Regions from separate parts of the Homo sapiens genome. Here regions 2, 3, 4 and 5 are each linked to region 1. The links are contacts of gene promoters, found by promoter capture Hi-C in blood cells and fetal thymus (Javierre and others, 2016). All regions are on one chromosome and are shown on one strand. Each heading gives the region's core, a stretch centred on a gene start or on the middle of the fragment in contact. The rest is flanking DNA. Distances are from core to core; before and after follow the strand shown. Region 1 holds the start of SART1 (spliceosome associated factor 1, recruiter of U4/U6.U5 tri-snRNP). Region 2 overlaps MAP3K11 (mitogen-activated protein kinase kinase kinase 11). Region 3 holds the start of SIPA1 (signal-induced proliferation-associated 1). Region 4 holds the start of CNIH2 (cornichon family AMPA receptor auxiliary protein 2). Region 5 overlaps RELA-DT (RELA divergent transcript).

Region 1 (3,082 bases), core at 367-2,866:
TTCTAAATCTAGTGGGTTCTTTTCGGTTCTGGTTTTGCTTGATCTCCTGTGGTATGTGGGACTGCTGATCGCTCCCTCCTTCTAACAATACTCTCTTCCCAAAGTTCCCATGACACAAAGGTTTTCCTGCCTTTTTGGTTACTCTGTCTCCTTTTTTTGGTAACATCTTTCTCTGCCTACTACTAACATAAGGGCATTTCTCAGGTTCTAGTCCTGACCCCCTCTTCTCATGTCACAGTCTTTCAGGGGCTTCACTGGCCACCCAGATACTGACTCCCAATGGCTTTATCCAGTCCAAACTCTGGATTTCCCCATTACCATCAACCTTGACAACCCCAAAAGTGAACTATCTCCCCCCACCCCCGCTCCAAATCTGCTTCTCTTCCCTACTCCTCAATTTCAGTAGAAATGACACCCACTACCTATCTGGCTGCTCAAGCCAAAATTCAAGGAGTCATCCTCCATTCCTTCTTCCCACCCTCATACAAGTGCTGAGTTCTGTTCATTCCTCCTCCAAAACACCTCTCCAACCTGTCCACTTCTCTCAATCCCACTGCTGCTGCCTTGGTGCAGGCCACCATCAGCCCTCCCCTGGCCTATAGCCCTCCTGGTTTCCTGGTCTCCAGTCCTGACTACCTTTGACTAAATTCTCAATCCAGTGATGTTTACAAAATACGGATCTGAGCAACTCACTCCTCAACTCACATCCATGGCTCCCTACTATCCTCAAGACAATCTACAGTTCTTAACAGAGACTACAGTACAGGGTCCTTTGTGTTCACATCCCTGTCTATCTTACTCCCTCATTTCTCTACCATGCGCCCTACACGATTCGTCCAATACCAGGTTTTTCTTGCCTCTGTATATGCTGACACTACTTCATTCACTCATTCAACATATTTATTGAGAATCTGATTGTACCAGACAACTGAGGAAAACAGAAGCCCTCTGTCCTCAAGCAGCTGAGTGGAGAAAGTCAACCTCTAATCCTAAACAACCGTAGAAAGACTTTTTTCTTTTTGAGACAGAGTCTCGCTTTGTTGCCCAGGCTGGAGTACACTGGCGGGACCGCAGCTCACTGCAGCCTCTAACTCCTGGGCTCAAGGGATCCCGTAGAAAGACTATTTAATAGAGCTGGTAAACAGCTTGGGGGTTTCCTGGCCTGAAGAGCTTCGCTGACACTGCGCGCACACCCAGACCCACGCGTTCCGGGACCCCCGCCCGACCCGCCCCCTGCGCAGGCCCCGCCTCCTCACCGGCCTCGTAGCCGTCATCGCGCTTCTCCCGCTTCACGCGCCGCTCGGAGGGCTCTGCCTGGCTGCGCTCCCGCCCGTGCGTGCTGCTCCGGGCCTCAGCTTCGGCCCCGCGCCGCCCGCTCCCGCGCTCGCCCCCACGTTCCCGGCTCCGCTTCCGTCGTTCGCCACCGCTACCGCCACTGCCGCCACTCCGGTGCTTGTGTTTTTTGTGTTCCCGGTGCCGCGGCGGCTGCTCGGTGGCACCCCCGGTGCCGGCCGCCGCCGTCGTCCCGGCCGCCTCCTTCTCTCCGCGATGCTTCTTGGACGACCCCATAGTGGCACGTCCACTCCGAGCCCGGCTGCCGCCGAGCCCAGACAACGCAAAATGGGAATACTTCCGGGTCGCTCGGCAGCCGCTGTCGTGTTGCCGGAAACTAAGAGCGGCTGCTTCCGTCGCTCGCCTTGGAGCCTGCCCCAGAGGCTCATGGGAAGGCCGGGATCAGCGCTCGACTGCACATTCGCGCCGTCTCGGGTCGGGTGGGTTCTTTGAGCGAGTGGTCCCATTGCGCATGCGCTCCTCAAGGGAAGCGGAATTAACCCGGAGGTGGGATCCCAGAACTGGAAGGACTTAGAGCCCATTAAGTCAGTGTCTTCGTGGCTTTAAGTTCCTCCCCGGCCTCCCTGCGCTTGCACTTCACCGGCAACGGGGTGTTCACTACCTCACGGTCTTTCCGTAGACACCTCCCTCCTACAATGGGCGCTCGCTTAGTGGACTCCTAGGGTCGTGGCTCCAACGGGTGTTGTTTTCCCGAGATCTCCAATTCCACAGCCCAGCTTCAGACCCGCTATAACCAGTATCGTCAGGGAACGCTTCCTTCCCACGTTCCCTGTTTTGTTTTGTTTTGTTTTTTCCCTTGAGATAGGATCTCACTCTGTTGCTCAGGCTGGAGTGCAGTGGCGTGATCACAGCGCACTGCAGCCTCGACCTCCTGGGCTCAAGTGATCCTCCCACCTCAGCCTTCCCAGTAGCTGGGACTACGAGAGTACGCTACCACGCCCCTTTAATTTTTGTATTTTTTTGTAGATGGTTGGTGGGGAGCGGGGGTAGGGGGTGGGGTCACTATGTTGGCCAGGCTGGTCTCGAACTCCTGAGCTCAGGCTATACACCCGCCTTGGCCTCCCAAAGTGCTGAGATTACAGGCATGCGCCACTGCGCCTGGCCCTGGATTGGATTTTTAAAACCTGGCCCCGTGAACTGTTAAGATTGTTTAGGAGCTCCACATGGGCGTCAGTGTATCCCTGGAACCCCTGAAATTGAATGCAAAATGTGGCACATCTGTGTGTATGAGTTTTTTTCTTGAGGAGACCAGCCCTAACTTAAAACTATTGGGACTTAAAACCCCAGTGCAGGCCGGGCGCGGTGGCTCACGCCTGTAATCCCAGCACTTTGGGAGGCCAAGGCAGGCGAATCACGAGGTCAAGAGATCGAGACCATCCTGGCCTACATGGTAAAACCCCGTCTCTACTAAAAATACAAAAATTAGCTGGGTGTGGTGGCGCACACCTGTAGTCCCAGCTACTCAGGAGGCTGAGGCAGGAGAATCGCTTGAACCTGGGAGGCAGAGGTTGCAGTGAGTTGAGATCACACCATTGCACTCCGGCCTGGTGACAGAGCGAGACTCTGTCTTAAAAAAAAAAAAAAAAAGCGCAGTGCACACAATCCCAATCTCTCCTGAAACCCCTCCCCTCACCCAGTGGTTGCTCAGTCTGTGGCTCCCTGTGTGGCACAACTCAGCATGTGTTAGGCTATGTTGTATGCGCCCCTTTAAGGATCCACCCCCTCTCCC
Region 2 (3,082 bases), core at 269-2,768, 360 kb after region 1:
CTGTGATGATGGAGGGAGAATAAAGATTATCTCCGATTTCATCGGTTTCCCCTGCAGTGGAGCCTGCAGAGCCAGGCCAGGCATGGGGCCGCCAGTCCCCCCGACGTCTGGAGGACTCAAGCAATGGAGAGCGGCGAGCATGCTGGGCTTGGGGTCCCAGTTCCCCCAAGCCTGGGGAAGCCCAGAATGGGAGGTGAGTACCTGAGTGCCCCCCAGACCCAGCATCATTTGCTTTCCCCAAGTCCTGAAATTCCTAAAGCACCCCTCCTTGCCCTCCCATCACCAGGAGAAGGTCCCGCATGGACGAAGCCACATGGTACCTGGATTCAGATGACTCATCCCCCTTAGGATCTCCTTCCACACCCCCAGCACTCAATGGTGAGTGGCCTTCCTCCCCCGGCAGGATCTGGCTGAGCTCCTTCCGTGGGCACCTTGGGGAGGCCACAATAGGCTAGTAGGCAAAGCAGGAGTCCTGCCCTGGTTGCTCTCATTCTAGAGACTAGGAAACCAAGGCTGAGACAAGACAGAGCCGATCCTGGAACCCAGGTCTGACCTACAGGCCCACGATCAAGCGGCATACAGCCCAGGCCTCGGCTCGGGGCCCAGAGTCTCATCCCCTTGCTCAGACCTGGCCTGCAAGAAGCCTCTTCCCTGGCCCCATGGCAGCCCCTGTGCCTTTAGCAGGCTCCAGGGAGAAAAGAAAGACAGGAAGCCCACCTGGCATTTGGTACCCAAGGGAAGCTGGACCCAGATGGGGGAAGGAATCAGCCTGTGTGGGGTGGAGCCAAACAAGTGTCAGCCACACTGTGCTTCTCAGAGCCCCTTCTGGGAGCCTGTAGGTGAAGAAGAGAATGAGAAGGCCGAGCAGGCAGGATCCAGGACCCATTCTCACCACATCCAGGATAGCTCGGGGCCTTTCTGTTCTCCATGACGGTAACTGCCCTACTGTGCCAGGCATTCCCTCCAAGCATTGATGAAGAGGGGCTACTATTACCCCATTTTGCAGATAAGGAAACTGAGGCTCTGAGAGGTGAAGTAACCTACCTCAAACCCCCAGCTGAGGATTTGAACCCAGAGAGGCTTCAGCTCCAATGCTCTCGTAGTGAGCTCAGAAGCTTTCACTTGAAGAAAGGGCTTCTCACGTATAGACTGCTTAGGAAGCCAGAGGGTCAGGCAGAAGGCAGGGCTCCAGCATTGCAGGGAGGAGGGCTCACTCAGCTCAACACTGCCCAGCTCTGAGTGAGGCCAGAGAGTTATGGCCTCCCTTGCCTGTGGGTCCCTGTGCCAACCTAGGGACCATCCTCAGAGCCCCCACACCTGCTGCTCACAGCCAGAATGTAGGACCCGCTTAGCTGCTCTCAGAAGAGTCCTGTTCAGCAAGCCGTTTAAACTCACTCCTCCCATCCCACCCAGCCCATCGCCTCTTCCATTCCCTGAGCTACACTTGATAGTTGTAACAACAGCTAACCTTTGTTGGTTCTCTTCTATGTGCCAAGCAGTTCTGTGAGGGGAGTAGTAGTATTGGCCTGCATTTTACAACAGAGAAAACTGAGGCACAGAGAGATTAAGTGGTTTGATGTAAGGCAACCAGTAGAGCAGGGATTTGATCTGCTCTTGCCTGTCTGACCACAGAGGCAGAGCCCTGGGCCTCCATCTGCCCCGCCATTTGCTACTCCAGCAGCTGCACTGCCCCCAGCATCTGTCCTGCAGGGACTGAACTGAGAGCTGGAAGGCCAAGGAGGCTTCTTGAATTCACTTGCTCTAAATTGTACCAGGCCAGATGGGCCAAAGGAGAACTTGAGAGCCTGTCAACCCAGGTGTGTAGGCTGAAGCAGGTCCTGACTGTTCCACAGAACTCTCTGGCCCTCAGCTCCCAGAAGCAGGGGCACAAGGGGCCTGGGCCCCATCGTTCTCAAGCTTGCCCCATGTTTTTTTATCCAAAGAATTTGTTAATTATTTATGAAGAGAAACTACTTATTAGCCCATATATTCATGAATAGTTCAGATCAGTGACAAACTTCTAAGTAATTCAACCCAAAGAAATTCTTCATATTCCAAAATCACTTTGCATTCTGAGAGATAGCAGCCTTCCTCATCTCCTCGAAGTATTTCATGGCATCATAACTTCTGTAGACATCTGTGCCCATAGAAATCTGAAATGCCTTCTTTCTTGGTCCAGCCCCTGCAAACTGAGAGAGCCGCAGCCCCCAGGGATACAGTGAATGCTCCCACAATATGAAATTGCAGATGTGTGGCCAGAAGGCCACATGTCTGAGGTTTCATGAAAGCACTGGAAACCATGGTAGTTACTGTTCTTGATAAGTATGTCGGCCTCAACACCAGTGCCCTTCCTGGCTGATGAAGAAATGGATTGCCACTTGCCCTGAAAGGATGTCAGCTGCCCAGCTCAGTGGCTGGCTGAGCATCTGGTTCCCCTAGCCCAATCCCACACTCCACGCATCATCTGGGTCCATGAAAGTACATGACATTGACCTCACAGCCACCCCCCGAAACCCAGCTAAGAATCAAATAATGGGGCTTCACAGAGGTCCCAGACCCTGTGAGATGGTCCCCGGCATAAGCCATACCACTGGAGAGTCACACACACCCTCACCCTGTCCCCAGTGGGCTGTTCTGGTCCCTGGAGAGCTGGCTGCAAGGAGTGGCACATTGGCAGGGTGCACTCAGCTACGCTGATAGCAACTGCCCTGTGAAGCTTGTTGCCTTAGAGCCAATAACTACGTGGCTGTGTCCTCCCTGTGAGACCTCACGGAAGCAGTTTCGCCTCTATCTATCTATCTTTGGGTCAAGAATAGTCACGCAGCTTTCTCCTAAACAACAGAGTTGCTAACTCTTGCTGCCAGGAAGCTTAGAGGCAGATTCAAATCCTAGCTGGATTATGTTGACCAAGTCCCTTACCCTTCAGAACCTCAGTTTCTCAGGCCATTGACTGCAGGAACTTCTGTTCACTCTCATTTTGTCTGCTGGACCCTATCTTCTCTTCCCTTTGTCTCATTTCTGTCTTTTATTTTTTTAAAGATAGAGTCTCATTCTGTTACCCAGGCTGGACTGCAATGGCATG
Region 3 (3,082 bases), core at 583-3,082, 320 kb after region 1:
TTCCGTGTCAGAGCTAGGATGTGAGCCTGGGTCTGCCCATCTCCAGGCCCTAAGCAGGGCTGCACCTGCCCACTGCTGTCTGTGTGCGTAGGTTTTGGGGGGTGGGTGTTGGGCTGAGGTTCAAGGTCTCACAGGATGCAAGATTGAGACACCCAAAGCCCCAGGGACCTGCTAAGTGCGGAAACGTGACGCCAGAGGCAGGTGCAAATGGTGGTGTGAGAACTTGAGGGAAGCCACACCCAGGCAAGCCCTGGATGGAGTAGGCAGTGAGGACAGGGAGCTGGGGAACCTCCACTGGGGGTACAGGCATCTAATGGTGGGTCTTCATGCAGCATCCAGCAACATCATGCGGGGCTGGGCCGGAGGGGGGTGGAGGAGGGGCTCCACACACCCTTCGTCTGGGGCCTCCAGAACCAAGCAAGAGTCGGCTCCCCAGCCCAGGTGCTTCTACCTTGATTTCTCCTGAATAAACTCCCATGCTGACCTTGAGCCTCTGTTTTCTCATCTCTAAAATGGGGTTAACTGGCCGGGTGCGGTGGCTGTGGCCTGTAATCCCAGCACTTTGGGAGGCCAAGGCGGGGGGATCACCTGAGGTCAGGAGTTCAAGACCAGCCTAGCTAACATGGTGAAACCCTGTCTCTACTAAAAACATAAAAATTAGCCGGGTGTGGTGGTGCGCACCTGTAGTCCCAGCCACTCAGGAGGCTGAGGCAGGAGAATCGCTTAAACCTGGGAGGCAGAGGTTGCAGTGAGCCGAGATCGCGCCACTGAACTCCAGCCTGCGGGACAGAGTGAGACTGTCTCCAAAAAAACAAAGAAAAAAATTGGGTTTAATTATTTCTGTCCCCTCCCAAGGCTGCTGAGAGACTGAGAAGAATGAGGTGAGTGTCGCTAGCTATGTGTGTGTGTGACGGGTGTAGCCCCTGGCTCCATGAGCCAAGCTCTGGGCACATTCAGCGCTCGGGCCTGGGCTATAGTGTGTGAAGGAGTAGGAGGGCATGAGGGAGGGGGTCTGTGCAAGCCCCGCTCCTTGTGGGCTGAGCTCTGCACGCTTGGAAGTGAGATCTGTGCATGTGTGCACCCAGCCTGTGCGCTGCCTCTTGCTGTGGCCCAGTGCCAGGCTCTGGCGCTGCCTTGAGGGGTGTTCTCGGGCTCTGCCCCCCACCCTGAAGCTTCACACAGGGTCCATTGAGGCTAGGACATTCCTCCGGGCCTGTGTCACTAGGGGTGGGGGGAAAGGGCCGGCCCCGCCCCCACAGATCCGGAAGGCCTGGCTGCCCCAGGAGGAGGAGCTGGCCACTTCCCAGCACATCTGGAGGTCATGACCCCATTTCGGCTGCCAGGGGGCGCGACAGATGTTTCCTCCCAGGCCAGGCCAGGGACTGGGGTGGAGGCCGCCTAAGAAGAAGAGGAGCCTCAGAATAAGGGGGAGCCCCGCACACACTTGCAGTGTTGAGGGGGAGGGGGTCACAGTGCCGCCACCAGGAGTCAGGAGCCGCCGCTTCCACTCACCGGCTGGCTGGCCAGGCTAAGCCGTCACACAGAGAGAGTAGGAACGGCTGGTCAGAGACAGGGGGCTGGACATATTGACTCGGGACTGAGCTGGAGCCCGGAGGGAAGTTGGGAGGGTGCTGGCGGCGAACGTGGCGAGGACCCCACTCCCATACACATCACCCGGGCCCACGGCTAGGCCACCTCTCCCCTGTCGGGCCCGACAGTAGTGCCTCCCGTCCCCTGCTCCCGCCAGTACCTCTGGGGCTCCCGCCCAGCCGCCGCCGCCCGCGCTGGGGTCCCGCTGCCGCTCTCCCGCTACCGCTCCCGGCGCCGGCTCCGCCTGGGGGCGGGGCCATGCTGGGAGGCGGGGCCATGCCGGGAGGCGGGGCCGGCCGGGAGCTGTCTGCGGCGGGAAGCGCAGCAGCGGGGATTCCAGGCCTGGCGGAGGTCAGCACCGAGCAGTGCTCATTCTAAGGCCATTTCCTCTCCTGAGAAACTTGTGCCTGCCTTCCAGACCAACCGGGAGGGCTAGCGGAGGCCACCTAGCGTCCAGCTCCCGGCCAGCAGGTGCTCAAGAGTCTGCCACTATTTTATGGAGCACTTGCTAAGCACTGGGCCCTGGGCAACCATTCCACTAGCGCGCTCTCATTTATTCTAAAAACACCTTAGATAGGTGTCATCTCTTTACGCCCTGGAGCAGCTGAGGTGCAGAGAAAGGCTTTGGCCAAGAACAAGCCTGATAAATGTAGGAGCCACCAGACCTGGAAGTCTGACCATATGGTGGGAAATGGCAGACAATACCCTTCAGATAAAGGCTTGAAAAGGGAGCAGCCATGCGGTGAAGAGGACCCGGTTCTACCTGAACCCCACCTTGGTCTGCCCTTGATCTCTACTAGACTTCAGCCCCACATCCTTCACCCCTCTGCGTGCTTGTCCATCCCAACTTAGCCGCCTGTACTATCATGTACCCATTCCCAGGTAGAAAAAGAAACTGCCAACCAAAATCAAAAATAGTGTTATTAATTCTGATGTCTCCGAAGCACAAAAAAAAAAAAAAAAAAGAAAAGAAAAAAAAGGAAAGAAAGAAACCACCCTTCCCACAATTCAGGCCCCAGGTCCAGGCCAAGGGGGCCACACCTGCAGGCAGTGCAGGCCCAGGGGCTGAGGTGGTCCTGGCCACAGGCTCCAAGTGGGACCAGCCCATGGTTTGGCTCTTAGGGCCTGGCTGGGAGGCTGACTGCCTCCATCTGGGGAGCCCAGGCCCTGGACTGGGGATGAGAGAGATCAGGGGTCAAGGTCAGAGGTCTGGGTCACTCAGTTTTGGTACTCTGGCCAAGGCAGCCAAAGGTCAGGGTTCAGACATGTAGGCCAAAGCCACTCAGTTCTGTGGTCCAGCAGAGAGGCAGCAGAGCAGGTCCGTTACTGAATCCTAGGAGGTGGTCCAGTGGGCGCCAGGTAGCTCAGTACTGGTGTTCCAGCAGGGGCTGGGCTGCCGGGCTCTCACGCTCCTCAATAGGGGCAGGCCAGTCGCCCAGGGCACCCATAGGTGTGCCACTCTCAGGGGCACTGCTGTCCAAGCAAGGAATGT
Region 4 (3,082 bases), core at 583-3,082, 320 kb before region 1:
CTGCATTCCCTAGCCTGTGGCCCCCAGCTCCCTCCAGTCCTTAGAACCCTAGCCCTCCTGCCCCTACCCCACAGAAAGAAAAATAGAGTAACTCGGGGTGCGGGGGAGAGGGGGAAAGACAAAGCAACCAAGACCCAGAGAGAGAGCAGAGCCAGGCCAAGGAGTGACAGGGCTGGAGCTGGGGTGTGTGCTGAGGTGCCTTTGGGGGCTCACTCTTCACACAGTAGGGGTTCAGTCTATGGATTCCCGATGTCAAAGAGCAAGGTGGCAGGGGATGGCAAAGGGAGCGCAGGGGGAACCATGGAGCAGGCGGCAGGTCCCAGGAAGAGAAAGGAGAGAGGAAGTGGAGAGCCCGGGAAAGAAGCAGGTGAGGCACCGGGAGGAAGGAGGGAAGGGCTATGGGAAATGGGATTGAGGGAGGGATAAGAGGACCCCTGAAAGGGAATGACAATCAGGGAGGTGTGCGCGGGAGGTGTGAGCAGAGGATGCTGAGCTGAGCCAGCCAGGGCCGAGCTGGGCAGGCTGTTACAGAAACAGGCACGGGGTTTGGGTGGGGGTGGGGACGGAGGGCAGTAAAGTGGGGCCAGGGGCCCCCAACAACCAGCTGGAGGCTGATTGATAGTTCTGTAGTGAGGGGACGGGAGCCAGGCAGAGGAGGCCCTGGAGGAGAGGAGCGGGAGGGGAGGAGGAGGGAGCCTGGGGGAAGCGATGGGTCGGATGCAGGATGAGGAATGGACATTTTGAAGAACCAGGTGTGAGGCTAGGCCAGGGCGAGGGACAGACCAAGGGGTATGTGAGAGACAAAGGGGAAGGGGGACAGGAAGAGGAGGGAAGCTGGAAAATGGAGAGGAAACCTGGGGGGCTGGGAAGCCCCCAACAGGAGGGGTAGGGAAACCCAAGGTGAGCCGGTGGTGGGGGCTAGGTCTCTGGGGGCTGATGAGAGCCAACTGCTGCTTGGTCAGGGAGGGGGCTGGGAAGGCAAAGGGTTAATGGACTCTGAGATCTGTGGGTCCTGTAAACAGATGCAGTTGCCATAGCAACCAGCTCCATCACTCTGGCTGGAAAAACCCACAAAGGCGGGGGGGGGGGGGCAGCAGACAGACAAACTGCCCGACGGACTAATGGAGGCGGCTGGATGGTGGTGGGGGGGGACATAGAAGATAAAGCAACAAAAATGCCAGAATTCCACCCCCCACCTCACGGGCTGCATGGGAGCAGAGGACGAGGGCAGAGGAGGGGGTCAGAGACCGACTGACATACACACAGACAGGCGGGGGCGGCGGAGGAAGGGGGGCCCCGGGAAGAAAGCCGACCACGGGGGGTGTTAATGGGGGCGAAGCCGACAAGCCGACGGCTGGGGGATAGCAAGTTTCCCCTGGGCTCTGAGACCACCCGCCCTGGGTCCCTCCAGCTCCGCGTGGCCCCTGCCCCCCACCCCGCCCCCAGCCCCAGCCCCAGCCCGGCCTTACGTGCCAGATGACAAAGAAGATGAGGGAGGCGCACAGCACCAGGGTGAGCATGTAGCAGAACGCGGCGAAGGTGAACGCCATGGCCCCCGCGCCGGGCGGCGGCCCGGGGGGCGCCAGCGCGGGGCCCGGGCGCAAGGGGACGCCCCCCGGCCCGCGCTTAGGGCCGGCCGGGCATGGCCCGTGGGGCTCGGGGGACGTGGGTGATGCGGCCGGGACCGGGACCGCGGGGCCGTGGGGGGCGCGGGGCGCGGGCCGGTGGGCTCGGGGGGCGCGTCCGCTGCCGGCTGCCCGGGCCCCGATCGCTCATCCTGCGATCCCTCGCCCGCGGCTCCCTCGCTCTCCAGCCCGCGAAGCCGGCGGGGCGGAGCCGGGGGCGGGGCCGCCGCGCGAGCGGCCTCGGGCGGGGCTGGGTCTCCGCGGGCCCCTCGTCTGCCCGCCCGGCTCGGGCGCCACCCCCAGCCCCGACAAGCCCGCGGCCGTTCACCCTCCGGACAGCGTAGACGCGGCCGCCCCCGGCACCCCGCACCCCTCGGCACTCCAGCCACCGGCACAGCCGCACTCGGCCCCCTCGGGCGGGCGCTCAGGGCAAAGGCTGAAGTGCGAGGCACTTGTCACTGTCGGAGACGGCAGAAGCACCTGGCTGGGACACACAATGACGCCAGGACAGGGGCTGAATGGGAGCAGTGGGGTTTTGGGGGGCGCTGAAGGAGGTTGGGCCAGGTGCAGTGGGGGCCCTCTCAGCGGCTGCGCGACCCCACACCTCTGCCGTGTGCCCCGCGGGAGTTGGCGGCGGCACGCCAGGTATGAGCTGATGGCCGCCTGCCTCTTTCCCTGACAGAACGGTGCTGGGCCCTTGGGGACAGACCACAGAAGCACAAGCAGCTTTCCTGGCCTCAGGAAACGGGGTCAAGGGCTTTTGCCAGCAGCCTTAGGACACAGAAACCAAGCCAGGACCCCCGTGCACCCCACCAAGCCCAGGGTTCCAGTTCCATCCCCCCACCCCAAGGCTGGGCTTAGACCACAGACCACACTTGGCCACCACAACTTCCTTGCAAAAACCCTCAGCTCACCCGAGGGCCAATGGAAATTTATTAATTTTTTTTGTCCTTTTCCATCTTTCCCCAAGTGGCTTTTCCTTGCAAAATGCCTGACATGACACCAGAGGGGAACCTGGGAGCGGGGGGCACCCCAAGGGGGCAGCCCAGGGACTTAAATACAAGCTGGAGGGCAGGGCACAGGTGGGACAGGCAAGAGACAGCACGAGGGACATGGCTTCTCAGGGAGACCAAAGACTTGCTTTCTTGCAGGAAGCAGCTGTGCCAGAGGGCAGGGGACTAGGATCCTGGGTGCAGAGTGGGTGAGCAGAGAGGCCCCCAATCCTGGATGGAACCCACATTCCCCAGAGAAGTAGCGGCAGGGGATGAGGGCCTTCCCTGGTGGGCTCCAGAGACGGAGTGGGGAGTGAGCCAGATGTGCTACCTTGGGGAAAGGGAGGAGGTGCTAGCAGAGTGAGGGTTAAGGCTGGTGCCCAGCCTCTGGCACGGTGGGCCTTCCGCCTCCGCCTGACATGGGGACAAAGGGGCACGGTGGGCAGGCAGCGCATGGGTCTGTCT
Region 5 (3,082 bases), core at 185-2,684, 290 kb after region 1:
AGCATGTTGCCTTCAAGGCTCCTCAATACAGCATGTATCAGAATTCCCTTCCTTAAGGCTGAATAATATTCCCTTGCATGTATATACCACATTTTGGGGTTTTGTTTTGTTTTGTTTTTGAGATGGAGTCTCACTCTGTCACCCAAGCTGGAGTGCAGTGGTGTGATCTCAGCTCACTACAACCTCTGTCTCCTGGGTTCGCGCAATCCTCCTGCCTCAGCCCTCCAAGTAGCTGGGATTACAGGCGTGCGCCACCACACCCAGCTAATTTTGTATTTTTTTTTTAGTAGAGACAGGGTTTCGTGGGGTTTCACCATGTTGGCCAGGCTGGTCTTGAACTCCTGGCCTCAAGTGATCCACCTGCCTCGGCCTCCCAAAGTGCTGGGATTACAGGCATGAGCCACCGTGCCCGGCCGCATTTTTTTAATCCATTTGCATTAATCCGGGATCTCCAGAACAGAACCAAACAGATACAGATATAAGAGGCGATTTATTATGGGAATTGGATGACAAAGTTATGGAGGCTGAAAAGTCCCACAATCTGCCATCTGCAAGCTGGAAGACCTGGAAAGCCAATGGTGTAATTCATTCCAAGTCCAAAGACCTGAGGACCAGGTGAGCCAATGGTGTAATGTCTCGGAGTCTGAAGGCCTCCAGGAGCTCTGATGTCTGAGAAGTTGGATGTCCCAGCTCAAGAAAGGAGAGAATTCACCTTTTCTTCACCTTTTTGTTCTATTTGCGCCCTCAGTGGATTCGATGATGGCCACCTATGTTGGATAGGGTGGATCCTTTTACTCAGTCTGATTCAAATACTAACCTCTTCCAGAAACACTCTCACAGACATACCCAGAAATAATTTTCTACCAGCTATCCGGGTATTCCCTGGGCTGGTCAAGTTGACACATGAAATTAACTATCACACTGGTCATGCGTCAATGGACATTTGGGTTGTTTCCGCCTTTTGGCTATTGTGAATAATGCCGCTATGAACACTGGTGTACAGATATCAATTTGAGTTCCTGCTTTCAGTAGTTTTGAGTACTATGAAATTTCTGGATCATGTGTTAATTCTGGTTTAATTCTTTTGAGGAACCGCCATACTGTTTTCCAGAGCGACTGCACCATTTTACATTCCCACCAGCAATTCACAAGTGTGCCAATTTCTCCACGTGTTCTCCACATCTCCATATTTCTCAGCAAACAGCTGTTACCTTATTTTTCTGATAACAGCCATCCTAATGGGTGTGAAGTGGTATCTCTTTGTGTGTTTTTTTTTGTTGTTTTTTTGTTTTGTTTTGTTTTGAGATGGAGTCTCGTTCTGTTGCCCAGGCTGGAGTGCAGTGGCGCGATCTCGGCTCACTGCAAGCTCCGCCTCCCGGGTTCACACCATTCTCCTGCCTCAGCCTCCCGAGTAGCTGGGACTACAGGTGCCCGCCACCATGACCGGCTAATTTTTTGTATTTCTAGTAGAGATGGGGTTTCACCGTGTTAGCCAGGATGGTTTCGATCTCCTGATCTCGTGATCCGCCCGCCTCGGCCTCCCAAAGTGCTGGGATTACTACAGGCGTGAGCCACGGCGCCCGGCCTATTATTAGTTCTTTATATGTTCTAGGTATTAATCCTTATCAGATATGTAATTTGAAATATTTCCTACCATTCTGTGGGTTGATTTTTTACTTCAGTATATTGTATTTGATGTACAAAAGTTTTTAATTTTTATAAGCCTAATTTATTTTTTTCTTTTGTGGTCTGTGCTTTTATGTTGTATCCAAGAAATCACTGCCAAATTCAATGTCATGAATATTATACAACATAAATGATAACATATAAACAATAAAAACGTAAATAATAACATATAAGCAATCAAAAACATGGGGCACTATGTTTTTTTCTGAGTTTATAGTTTTAGGTCCTACATTTAGGTATTTGGTCCCTTTTTAGCTCTTTATTTTATTTATTTTTTTTTTTGAGACAGAGTCTCGCTTTGTCGCCCAGGCTGGAGTACAGTGGCGCGATCTCGGCTCACTGCAAGCTCCACCTCCCAGGTTCACGCCATTCTCCTGCCTCAGCCTCCTGACTAGCTGGGACTACAGGCACCTGCCACCGTGCCCGGCTAATTTTTTTTTGTATTTTTAGTAGAGACAGGGTTTCACCGTTTTAGCCAGGATGGTCTCGATCTCCTGACCTCGTGATCCGCCCGCCTCAGCCTCCCAAAGTGCTGGGATTACAGGCGTGAGCCACCGCGCCCGGCCCCAGTTCTTTATTTTTTTGAGACAGCGTCACACTCTGTCGCTTAGGCTGGAGTGCAGTGGCATGGCTCACTGCTGTGAACTCGAACTCCTGGGCTCAAGCAATCCGTCTCAACCTCCTGAGTAGCTGGGACTACAGGCATGCACCACCATGCCCAGCTAATTTTTTTCTTTTTTTTTTTTTTCTTTTGTAGAGATAGGATCTCACTATGTTGACCAGGCTGGTTTCAAACTCCTGGGCTCAAGTGATCTTCCCGCCTTGGCTTCCCAAAGTGCGGGAATTACTGATGTGAGTCACCAGGTCCAGCCATTTGAACCATTTTGAGTTAATTTTTGTATATAGTGTTAGGTAAGGGTCAACTTCATTCTTTTGCATGTGGATACCCAATTTTCCCAAAACCATTTGTTGAAAAGATTGTCCTTTCCCCCAGTGAATGGTCTTGGCGCCCTTGTTGAAAATCATTCAGCCGTATATGGAAAGGTTTTATTTTTATGGGCTCCCTATTCTGTACAATTGGTCATATGTCTGTCTTTATTTTTTTTGGAGACAGAGTTTCACTCTTGTTGCTCAGGCTGGAGTGTAATGGCTCAATCTCGGCTCACTGCAATCTCCACCTCCCGGGTTCAAGCGATTCTCCTGCCTCAGCCTCCCAAGTAGCTGTAATTTCAGGCATGGGCCACCATGCCCGGCTAATTTTGTATTTTTAGTAGAGACGGGGTTTCTCCATGTTAGTTAGGCTGGTCTTGAACTCCTGCCTCAGCCTCCCAAAGTGCTGGGATTACAGACGTGAGCCACCACGCCCGGCCTATATGTCTGTCTTTATGCTAGAATC

Evidence for each region. The method cuts DNA at HindIII sites, captures the fragments that hold promoters and counts their contacts. A CHiCAGO score of 5 or more calls a contact.
Region 2: a fragment that was not itself captured here is called in contact with the fragment with the promoter of SART1 in region 1 in 1 of 17 cell types (erythroblasts); the score reaches 6.9 in erythroblasts.
Region 3: the fragment with the promoter of SIPA1 here is called in contact with the fragment with the promoter of SART1 in region 1 in 8 of 17 cell types (M1 macrophages, endothelial precursors, erythroblasts and 5 more); the score reaches 11.8 in M1 macrophages.
Region 4: the fragment with the promoter of CNIH2 here is called in contact with the fragment with the promoter of SART1 in region 1 in 1 of 17 cell types (total B cells); the score reaches 5.7 in total B cells.
Region 5: a fragment that was not itself captured here is called in contact with the fragment with the promoter of SART1 in region 1 in 1 of 17 cell types (erythroblasts); the score reaches 5.5 in erythroblasts.

The regions. Positions count from the first base shown.
Region 1 is chr11:65,960,268-65,963,349 of GRCh38, reverse strand. SART1 (spliceosome associated factor 1, recruiter of U4/U6.U5 tri-snRNP) reads right to left here and starts at 1,616. Exons shown (of 20, transcript NM_005146.5): 1 at 1,257-1,616. The coding sequence starts at 1,569. RefSeq lists an enhancer at 971-1,758. The HindIII fragment of the contact is 10,638 bases long and covers 1-3,082 here.
Region 2 is chr11:65,603,057-65,606,138 of GRCh38, reverse strand. MAP3K11 (mitogen-activated protein kinase kinase kinase 11) reads left to right here. Exons shown (of 10, transcript NM_002419.4): 7 at 58-193; 8 at 287-378. Among named protein-coding and RNA genes, the nearest start is that of KCNK7, 8.8 kb to the right of the region's middle. The HindIII fragment of the contact is 802 bases long and covers 1,118-1,919 here.
Region 3 is chr11:65,636,851-65,639,932 of GRCh38, reverse strand. SIPA1 (signal-induced proliferation-associated 1) reads right to left here and starts at 1,832. Exons shown (of 16, transcript NM_006747.4): 1 at 1,751-1,832. PCNX3 (pecanex 3) reads right to left here. Exons shown (of 35, transcript NM_032223.4): 35 at 2,494-3,082. The coding sequence ends at 2,955. RefSeq lists enhancers at 1,200-1,269, 2,221-3,011 and a silencer at 1,620-1,989. The HindIII fragment of the contact is 3,649 bases long and covers 1,175-3,082 here.
Region 4 is chr11:66,276,925-66,280,006 of GRCh38, reverse strand. It overlaps CNIH2 (cornichon family AMPA receptor auxiliary protein 2), which reads right to left and starts at 1,832. Exons shown (of 6, transcript NM_182553.3): 1 at 1,470-1,832. The coding sequence starts at 1,550. It overlaps RAB1B (RAB1B, member RAS oncogene family), which reads right to left. Exons shown (of 6, transcript NM_030981.3): 6 at 2,515-3,082. It overlaps LOC107984340 (a long non-coding RNA gene), which reads left to right and starts at 1,482. Exons shown (of 2, transcript XR_001748274.1): 1 at 1,482-1,512. RefSeq lists a silencer at 1,727-2,056. The HindIII fragment of the contact is 7,021 bases long and covers 1-3,082 here.
Region 5 is chr11:65,669,108-65,672,189 of GRCh38, reverse strand. RELA-DT (RELA divergent transcript) reads right to left here. Exons shown (of 4, transcript NR_183625.1): 4 at 472-767. Among named protein-coding and RNA genes, the nearest start is that of RELA-DT, 7.6 kb to the right of the region's middle. The HindIII fragment of the contact is 9,453 bases long and covers 1-3,082 here.